Linked DNA regions of Homo sapiens: region 2 is linked to region 1. Evidence: promoter capture Hi-C in human tissues and cell types (Jung and others, 2019). All regions are on one chromosome and are shown on one strand. Each heading gives the region's core, a stretch centred on a gene start or on the middle of the fragment in contact. The rest is flanking DNA. Distances are from core to core; before and after follow the strand shown.

Region 1 (5,023 bases), core at 943-3,442:
GGTCACTACTTAACAGGTGATATATGGATCAAGAATCACTGCTCTTAACAGTGATCTCAGTAAATTAATAGAAATGCACTCCTAACATGATTTTTACCTATCTCTTGGTTGTGGGATTGACTTTCTAGACATGATCTACATTTTTTTAGATAATTTCTAGACAAAAATGTTTGGCTTTAAGACAAATGCCACTGGGTATCAGGCTAGAGAATACACCTCCAGTGTACCTGGTATACCTTGAGGATAGGAGAGGAAAAACTGGCTATGAGACGACAATTACTGAAGCTGAGTGATGTGTACATGAAAATTTACTATTCTTTTTTTATATTTGAAATTGATGAGGTGCTGGGAAGCTGGCTTTCTGAGGGGACAACAGGAGGGGAATTCCTTGATTTGCTGCATTTATCACTTTCCATGGTGTAAAATACTCCTGCCATGGCCAATTTGTTATTGACATATCACTAAAGGCAGAGTTGGAGAGAGATGTGCAAAGATGGCTCCCAACTAGAAGATACCACTTTCTGTAATCAACTTTTTATAATGAAGTTTAAAAATATTAAGCCCTGATACATTATAGGGTAAAAGGAAATATTCATATAAATTAATTTAAAAATCAAAATACAAGGCTGGGCACAGTGGCTCACACCTGTAATCCCAACACATTCTGGGAGACCAAGGAGTGAGGATTGCTTGAGGCCAGAAATTTGAGAACAGCCTGGGCAACACAGTGAGACTCTGTCTCTACAAATAATAAAAAATTTAGCCAGACAAGGTGGCACACACCTGTAGTCCCAGCTCTCAGGAGGCTGAGGCAGGAAGACAGCTTGAGCCCAGGAGTTAGAAGCTGCAGTGAACCATTATCAGACCACTGCACTCCAGCCTGGCCAGCAGAACAAGACTCTGACTCTTAAAATAATAAAACTACAAAGCTTATGTTTACTCTAGCTGGCCTCTTATCTACCACCACCATCCCACCTCAGCCCAGTTTGAAATGCAATTCCACAGTAAGTAATCCCTCACGTTAAGCTTCATCTTAGCTTTATTCCTTTGTATCTGAGAAGCATTTTTTAACTTTCCATATATTATTCAAAATGGGTGACCAAATGAACCATCTATACAATCTTTGCTCAATTAAAAATATCATTTCTACTTTCTTCATTGTGCTTGGTTTGGATATTCCAAACAATCAATTTAACATTATCCTAGCTACTTACAAGCTTATACTTTAAAGAATCATACTGAGGTGCTTTTTCATATCAAATTTACCTGTTTATTCATTCCATAGCAAGCAGGATATTCACTATTTAAAACAAATTTAAGCAGATTTCTGTTAGATTTCTTTAAATCACTGAAAAGTAACACAAAAATACATATAGGTAGTAACTAAGTACTGACAAAGTATTCTACCTATGCAATATCCTATTAAATGTCTAAATTACCATATGTAAATTTAATTGTATTATTTACTCAATGGGGAAAATCTGGATTACAGAACTGAGGAAAATTATGTTTTATGTAAATTATAAAAGGCCAAAGTCAATCATGTTGAATAAAATAATTTTGAAATATAAGCCAGTAATATACCATATGAGTATCCCAAGAGAAACCCTGGATAGAAAGAAACTTTTAAAGTCACTCTTTTTTTTTTTATTAGTAATGTTAATGTTTGAGCTCAGTGTTTGAGCATGCTGGTTTTACCTATTTATGCTAATTTTAAACCAACAATTGAAGTGAGAAAATAATCATTTATCCTTGAAAGTATCTTTAGCATGGTCTTCCTAATTAAAAATACCACTTAAAAAAGTGAGGCAGCAAAAGCATGAACTGGAGTCAGTGGTCTGTCTGGGTTAAAATTGGCCCCACGATTTACTACCTATGACTTCAAGCAAGTTGCTTAACCTCGCACTTCATCCCACTTCATTATCTCATTTGTGAAATAGAGGTAAATAATTAACCCTGTACTCACAGGGAATACCGAGATTATGCATGTAAAGTGCTTACAGTGCCTAGCACATAGTAAGTGCCTAATAAATGTTAGCCATAAATATTATTGTGGGTATAGAAAATCAAATTCCCTAGTTGCAAAATGTATGCACTAAATGCTGAATATCAAAGAAGTCAAAATTCAACCACACAAGTCTTAACAGTTATAGAGTCTTTGCATGGACACAGTTTCGAAGCTAAAAAATGAGAACCTAATATTACATGCAAGTTATGTGACTCATCAGTAAATTCTTCCTAGAAAAACAAACTATACCACTTGTCAGATTCTTCCAGCATAAGCCTGAGTCCCCTTGCACCTATAATTAGATTCTTATTTTACTATCTTTTGCGTATCTTGTATTAATTTTACTTGGTTGATAAGATGTTGAAGAAACCATGGAATTATACACAGCACTATACATTATTACTATAGAATGTCTGGTCCCTCCCATCATAAATATGGTTTAATGAAGTTATTGAAAAACTTCACAATATCGAGCTGCAATTCTTTTTTCTTTTTATACAAATACAAGTTAATTAGCTCTATTAAGTTGCAATTTTATTTTTATAAAGCTTTGTAAAGTTATGAACATGGAAACCCTAAGAATCACCTAAGCTTTTTACATAAGTAAATTTCAAGTTGACAGTCTGTCCATTTTGAACTATTTATAATTAACAGGACACTTAACACAGTAATATCTTAGACAAGGAAGAGGGCATTAATTCTGCAGGCAGGTAGCAATGAAAATGCCAAACCTGAACAATCAGTCACTATTTCCTTATACAGTTTGAGTAAAAGAGGTAGACTACAGAAAGAAAAAAAAAAGTGAATATAAAATGTATCTTCCCCAAATACAACTCTACTTCAATAAGTCTTGAAGATTACCGATGACATCAACAAAAATGAATGAACTCAGGGAATGAGTTCTTTCTCCCCATCAAAGAAAAAAACAGCATGTGTAATTTTAAATTTGAAAAAAAAAAAGAATGGCAATTTGCAAGCAAAAGAAAACCAGATTCACATTCTACTATTTACATTTGTTCTATTCACAGGTCAAAAATAAAATATTTCATTAGATAATTTAAAAAAAAAACACTTTTTTAAAACAAATGTATTTTACTCCATCAATACTGCAAGGAAGATAACTGAATTTAGAAATGCTCTCTCTCTACAGCAAAGTTAACTTAACTTTTCGGGGCCCAACTGGCCTATCATTTAGATCTTTAATAGCAGCCATAGCTTCATTATAGTTTATCATAGCAACAATGGCTTCCCCTGTAGGTAAGCCTTGCTCATTATACTGTATCGAAACTGAATCAGGTATGATTCTGTAACCATGGAAAAAGTCTAAAATTTCATTCACATTAGCTTTAAATGGAAGATTCATTATCTTAATAGGAGTTACTCTACCTGAACCACAATTTATTTTTGGATCAGGCATAAATCTCCCCTCAGGAAAACTTCCCATATTATGCTTTCCAAAATCAAACTTGCCACCTTCTGGGCGACCAAAATTCACAAAAGGGCGGTGACTTCTAAAATCATCAGGCGGGCTCCTAAAATCCTCACCAGGAGGTCTAAAATTGTCAGGAAGTCTAGGGTCCTCCTCCGGAGCTTCCCTAAGGTCTTCCTCTGGGAGCTGCCTGAAGTCCTCATCAGAAGGGCATCTAAAATCTTCCTCCTGGGGGCTCCTGAAGTCCTCATCAGGAGGGTGCCTAAAGTCTTCATCAGGAGGGCCCCTGAAGTCTTCATCTGGTGGGTGCCTGAAATCTTCCTCTCGGGAGCGCCTGAAATGCTCCTGAGGCGGCCGCCTGAAATGCTCCTGGGGCGGTCTCCGGAAGTGCTCCGGGGGCGGGCGCCTGAAATGCTCTGGGGGTGGCCGCCTGAAGTGCTCTGGGGGTGGCCGCCGGAAGTGCTCTGGGGGAGGCCGCCTAAAATGCTCTGGAGGTGGTCTCCGGAAATGCTCTGGGGGTGGCCGACGGAAATGCTCCTGAGGTGGCCTCCGGAAATGCTCCTGGGGTGACTGCCTGAAGTCCTCCTCAGGGGAATGCCTGAAATCCTCCTCTGGGGGCCGCCTGAAGTCATCCTCGGGTGGTCGCCTCCATTCTCCCTGAAGAGGCCGCCTAAAGTCCTCCTCTGGGGGCCGTCTCCAGTCCTCCTCAGGTGGCCGCCTGAAATCTTCCTCTGGGAGCCACCTTAAGTCCTCCTCAGGGGGTTGCCTGAAGTCCTCCTCGGGGAGCTGCCTGAAGTCCTCCGTGGGAGACCGCCTGAAATCCTCCTCCAGTGGCCGCCTCCAGTCCTCCTCAAGGGGCCTCCTCCAGTCCTCCTCCCTAGGGTGCCTGAAGTCATCCTCCGGAGGGCGCCTGAAATCTTCCTCCCAAGGGCGCCTGAAGTCCTCCTCAGAAGGCCGCCTGAAGTCTTCCTCCCTAGGTCGCCTGAAGTCCTCTGGGGAGTGCCTGAAGTCCTCCGGGGGGAACCTAAAGTCCTCTGAGGAGTGTCGGAAGTCTTCTGGAGGGTGCCTGTCAGGCTGCCGGAAATCCCTCTGGGGATGCTTGAAGTTATCCAGTTGCCTCAAGTCCTCTAGCTGATGTCTAAAGTTTTCAAAAGCACCAACTGAGTATATTGGTGGGTCTTTTGAGTCAAATAAATGGGAATGGTCACCTCGCTCACGTGACTGTGAGCGAGCTTGCATTTTTTCACTGGACATCACAGAAAAATTTACACCAAACTCCTGTATTTGTGCCTCAGATATAAGTCTTAATAACACCTCTGTCCCTAGGAATCTTCGTCGGTTTAAACGTTCAGCTTTCATGGCCTGTTCTTCTGATTTAAATTTCACTAATGCTTCTCCCAGACCAACACCTTTGTCATCATAAAGCAAGTAAATGTCATCCTCAGCAAGAAGAAAGTCTGCAAAGAACTTCTGCACTTCAACTTTTGTAACATCAAATGGAAAATTTCTTATATAGATGCACAGTTTCTGGCCAGAGTTACCTTCTTGAGAGTATTTTTGTGAAACATGTCCGGGCCTATCTCTCT
Region 2 (5,758 bases), core at 1,647-4,146, 530 kb after region 1:
GAAGCTGTGGCTGAAAGACACTTTATGGATGGCATTGGCTATCAGGATCCTCATATTACTTAGCAGAACATAGGGCTGTGCTTTACCCCTAGCTGAAGAATACATGCATTTTGAGATAATGTCACCTCAAAACAGTTTTGGAAATAGGCCAGGCTCCAATCAATAAATAGATGAAATTGTACAGGGAAAATTGTCTTGAAAAGCTGTCAGACTCTATAGAAAGTTTCATTGTTATACTTCACATTTTAAAAAATTATTATGCTATTTCAAATACAGATTTTGAACTATTTAACACCCACAAAACTTTCTAATATTGGTGGAAGCAAACTGATCAAGCCATCCTAACAGCTTTTCCAACTGGCTTGTTTTAGGTATAACCATGGAAAAAGGCTGTGTCTATACTGAGTTCCGGGAAGAATGTTCAAGTCAGAGTCAGCAGAAGTCAAGTGGGGCGCTGACCCTCTGGCTCTGCCCTCTCTAATCAGCCTTCCCCAACCCATTTAGAATTGGAATCTGAAGAATTCCCTTTCTGGCCCAGGATCAACAGATTTTGGTCCTGTCTACAAGCATTTTCATTTTCTTGCCCGAAAGCCTGTGCTTGGGCTTTTCTAGAGACTCAGCTCCCCCATCAATTGTCCAAAATGCCTAACTTCAGCTCCCAACTCTGTGGGTAAATAAGTCACCCACCCTCACTCTTTCTTCCTGGGCCACCCCTGGTGGAAAGAAGCCCACTGGGGCTGGGACACCTACCTCCCAGCACCTCGCAGTCGCTGTCCATGCTGTCATGCACACCTGCAAAGATGTTGGCCAGAGTGGACTTGCCCACCCCCTGCTCCCCTATGAGCACCACTCGGTAGTAGGTGTTCCCTGACTCAGAGGAGATGACTGAGTCTGTGGAGTCAGAGGACCAGCTTCGGCGGCAGTGGTCCTCAGGGGTAGCAGAATGGCGGTTGCGGTGGCTGTACTGGTGGGGCTCTTTCTGGACCATCAGATGCCTGCCATCAGCTGGGATGCTCCAGCGCTGCTGCTGTGGCTGCATGCCCACAGTGCCCTGGCGCATGGTGACATTATTCAGAGTCATCGTTGAGTCCTGGGGAGCAAAGCAGCCAAGATGGCAGCATTAGTAAGCATGAGTGAGAGCTCCGCTCAAATACATGGTCAGTCATCAGTAATATTTTATTAGATGAGATGAGAAGCAAGTATCCCTAACATAAAGACCACCAATTAAACAGTCCCCCAAACCCCAACAAGACAGGCTTTCAACTGGACACACACATGCTGCCCACACTGTCAGTAACCAGCTCCTCAGGCAGACTATCATTTGCATGGGAAAACAAATACGGTTAACATCACCCACTGCCCATGGGCTTCCCCCTTCCTCAAAGCAGACTTGGATGAAAGAAGAGCTGCACTCAGAGCTGGCACAAAGGCAGCTGGAAAGAACCAGCAGACTCCAAAGATGGCTTGAAAAGCAACAAGTTAATGTTGCTGGGGACCAGCTGGTCAGGTTAGCTGCTCTTGTCTAAACTTGGCTCTTAATTGCACCAGTGTCCAGCAGGTTTTGTGCCTCAGTGGGAAACACGTGGCAATGACATCACCCTCCCCTCCCCTGCCCACTGCAACCCTGGCTGGACTGGACAGGCACTTATTGGAACTTCCATGTTTAGTAAAGTTGCCTTGATGCTCTCCAGCTGCCTGGAGAGCATCCACCTGCCATTATTGGGGGTAGGGGGGAAATTTTCTGTTTAAAGTTTATGCCTCAGCTGTGCCCTCTTACCCACAGATACCACTTTTAAAACATCCCGGCTCCAAACCTAGACACCCTGGCAGAGAAATGACCTGCTCATGTTCAGACCTATGAAATTTGCAGAGAAAGTGCCTCATTCTTAAAAAACCACATCCATTCTCAAGAGTTCTTTAATTCAACTCAGATTCCTTTTTTGAGTCAGGGTCTTGCTCTGTCACCCAGGCTGGAGTGCAGTGGCACGATCATAGCTCACTGTAGCTAGCCTCCAACTGCCAGGCTCAAGAGATCCTCCACTTCAGCCTCCCAAGTAGCTGGGACTACAGACCTGCACTACCACGTCCACTAGTTTTTTTATTTTTATTTTTATTTTTTGGTAGAGACAGTGGCCTCACTATGTTGCCCAGGCTGGTCTCGAACTCCTGGGGTCAAGTGATCCTCCTGCCTCGGCTTCCGAAAGTGCTGAGATCACAGGCCTGAGCCACCATTCTCAGATCCCCTTCTTGAAGCAAATCAGAAGGCTGAAGACTCCCCTAAATGATATTCAACAACTTCTCTACAACTTTCCCTTTGCAGACTGCCTCCCCTAGCCGGGAGGTCTGTTTTTCCGGCTACTGGTGATAAAGTATAAGTACTTACGTTGCAATCAGCAAGATGCACAAACACTCCTCTCCCACCCTCACCCCCACACTCCGTACCCCAACATCTCGCCACTAACCAGGACGACCAGCCGGTTTTTTAGTCTCAAAAGCAGCACCTCAGTTGGCAGACTTACATTCAAACAACAAATACATAAAGCATCATTAAGGGCTGCCCTCTCTGACCACTCGATCTGTAGAGGGAGGTGACCCTTCTACCGAATTGAACTAAGGAACCTGCTGATGAGAAGCGACATCCTTTGCACTTGAAGCTCTGACCCCTACCAGAAAATCCCAGTGCTGAGCGCACGTTCCAGGGGTTCTTTTCTCAACTTCGAAAGTTCTGCGGGCTGGGAAACTCCCACTCTCTCCCTTCTCCGTCTCGGGCCGTCCCCCTTACTTGGCTCGGCCGGATCGGCGTCGGGGCGTCAGCGTATCGCGTGGGTCCGCGCTGGGATACCCGGGCCAACGAGCGGGGAGTGCTGCGCTGTGCCCGCCGTCCTTGCCCGCCGCCTGCAGCCGCCGCGGCCGGGCGGTTTATAACCAGCCCAGCCGACCCGCCGCGGGGCTTTTCCGTGACGTCAGCGCCCCCGCCGGGAGGGGGCGGCTCTGCAGCAAACTCGGAGTTGCAGCCACTTGGCTAAATCAGTTACTCGCAGTCATGTGACCCCTTCTCTCTCCATTTAAAAAATAATGACAGTTCAATCCTGGGCCTCCTTTATTTTGTTTTATTTTCTTTTTACCAGATGAACACAGGAAAATGGAAAAATACACTAAGTGACACTTAATCGTCCTTCCCAGCAAAGCACTTGCGAGCTGTCGGGATAAAGGATGGAAGGGAGAGGCAGGTTTGAGTTGAGAACTCAGTTTTGCCAAGAAAACAGAGATCAACCTGGAATGCGCAGAGACTTTAGCCTCCAGGATGAGACTGCAGCCACCTTGAATAGCCAAGGCTTGTTTTAACCACATCTTCTGCAACGAAGACAGCCTTGTCACCTTCTTCTGGATAGGGGGAAGCAGATGGAGCCCCACAAGGCTTTGTTTCCCTTCTCTGGCAAGGACCCAGAGAGAAGGGGCCAGAAAGAGGTGAGGAAAGAGGACAAGACCTTGAAAAGGGCAGTTTGGAAAAACAATTTAATTGAGGATCCAAGCAGATTGTGCTAAATATTGCTGGCCCTCCTGCTCTGGGCCAGAATGCTGAGGCTCCTCAATCAGGGAATTTAATCAGCATCCCAATCAGCAGCATCTCTGTACCAGGCTCCCTGGCAAGGCTACGCCTTGGGCATGAGCCAATACAGCCTGGCCATGGGGAGGAGCACTGAGACCAACACCCCTGTAAGAGACTCCTGTGAACAAAGGGCACAGGATAATAACTACTACTACCATTTATTAAGTACCTCTGAGGACCTCTGCTTAGTAGGTACTGTTAGGCCTCCTGGGACCTTAATCCTTACTATACTTCTGCAAGGTGGCTCTATTTCTACCCTCATTGTATGGAGGAGGAAGATAACATAGGGCCAGAGAATTTGCCCAAGGTCACACCGCTGGTATAAGTGGCAGGGTCAGGACTCAAAGCCTGGTTTTCCTGAGTCTCTGCACTGCACCACCAAGTGAAGGATTTCAATGACCTCTTTCTGGGGACATGGGTATTTCCCAGATGCTGTGTTTAGAGATGATGCTGGCCTCTCCAACATATCTGCTTTTCCAGCCAGCTTCAACTCTGGGTTGGCTGGTGGCTCCGGGAAGCAGCCAAAGGCACCAGCATCTATTGAAGCAGCTGGACTCTGCTGTGATTAGAGTCAATTCACAGTTATCCTGCAGGCATTTATCTGCTTTGAGAATTAGCTACATGACCAGCTGCTGAGACCTGCCAGGTCCCAAGCTAGCAAAGGTGGAATCCATAGAGTAATGAAAACTTAGAATTCCTTTAGTCTCAGGTGTTGTGGCCCCAATCTCCTACTTATCTTATACATAAGAAACCTGAGACCCAGAGAGGAGATGACCGCTTAGGACATGACAGAACTGGAACTACAACCTGGGGATCATAATTCTCTGGATGCCCTTTGCTTCTGTCAAGTTTTTCTTCTGGGTTTCGCTGACAGGAAGTGGCTACAGATGTGGGGAAAGGAAAAGGAGAGGAGATGGGGGGTGGGGGAGATCATCTCCAAGAGTATATCACTGACTCCATTCTAAAACACATGTAATTGATGAATAATCCATGTTTCAAAATGATCCATGCTTTTTCCATACTGACACTCCTACTCTGTCAACTGGTCTCAACAGAAACATCATAGGAGTAAAAACTAAGAAGAAATCAGTTTATAAGCATATGATATAGTTCCTCAGTTCTACTTTTGCCGATTGATAAGAATCTAATACTTCACATTTATAAAAACCTAATTCTGGCCAGGCACAGTGGCTCACGCCTGTAATCCTAGCACTTTGGGAGGCTGAGGTGGGTGGATCACGAGGTCAGGAGTTCAAGACCAGCCTGGCCAACGTAATGAAACCCTGTCTCTACTAAAAATACAAAAAAATAGCCGGGCATGGTGGTGGATGCCTGTAATCCCAGCTACTCAGGAGGCTGAGGCGGGAGAATCGCTTGAACCTGGGAGGCAGAGGTTGCAGTGAGCCGAGATCGTGCCATTGCACTCCAGCCTGGGCGACACAGCAAGACTCCATCTCAAAACAAACAAACAAAACAAACAAAAAAAAAACTAATTCCATACCTAGGCAATATCTACTATGAACTATTTGTCATTGGTATATGTGAAACATACAAAAGAAAATGAACTCCAGGGACTGGGGAAAGGGAAGGGGCACACAGCAATGTTGTGTTTGGATAATAGAACAATTTTTAAATTTTTTAAATTGTCTGTCTCACAAGAAGCCACATGAACACAAACAAGAACACTACTTAAGAAGAGTCTTGACTAAAAGTTAAGTTTGAGTAATTATTTAGAGAAAAATCATAGTTATACTTCACAAAAAGCACATCTGAGCGCCAAATCTCATCTAGCCAAGTCTCAGATCCCTCGACCAGGATTCCAGCTCACTGGGATCATCTTGAGGGTGTGGAGCTGGAGAGAAAAGGTAGAATCAGGGCATTTGGGTAAGTGGCAAGTTTTGAAGAGGAAAAATTGGCAGAAAGTTGTCTTTTGTTCTATGAATTATTCTCTCCATATTCTTTCTGCCAGCATTTGAAGGCTTCCTCAGTTTCTAGCTACAATGAGTAGCTCAAGAGTATAGCAAAGAGGCAGAATTCAAAGCAACAAAAATAACTCACATTTACTTACCAAAATGCATGCCTATCTCAGCTAATCCGCATCACCCCTACAGTTACCCATATTCTATGGGGAAAGGTGCTGAGGAATGA

The links. Contacts are between HindIII fragments. The study calls those that stand out against the background at their distance.
Region 2: a contact is called between the fragment with the promoter of GEM here and a fragment that was not itself captured in region 1, in 1 of the 25 tissues and cell types used here (hippocampus).

What each region holds. Positions count from the first base shown.
Region 1 is chr8:93,730,253-93,735,275 of GRCh38, forward strand. CIBAR1 (CBY1 interacting BAR domain containing 1) reads left to right here. Exons shown (of 9, transcript NM_145269.5): 9 at 1-1,275. It overlaps RBM12B (RNA binding motif protein 12B), which reads right to left. Exons shown (of 4, transcript NM_001377960.1): 4 at 1-5,023. The coding sequence ends at 3,153. Among named protein-coding and RNA genes, the nearest start is that of RBM12B-AS1, 7.3 kb to the right of the region's middle. The HindIII fragment of the contact is 4,463 bases long and covers 1-4,424 here.
Region 2 is chr8:94,259,423-94,265,180 of GRCh38, forward strand. GEM (GTP binding protein overexpressed in skeletal muscle) reads right to left here and starts at 2,897. Exons shown (of 5, transcript NM_005261.4): 1 at 2,668-2,897; 2 at 751-1,090. The coding sequence starts at 1,081. RefSeq lists silencers at 854-997, 2,139-2,208. The HindIII fragment of the contact is 10,611 bases long and covers 1-5,758 here.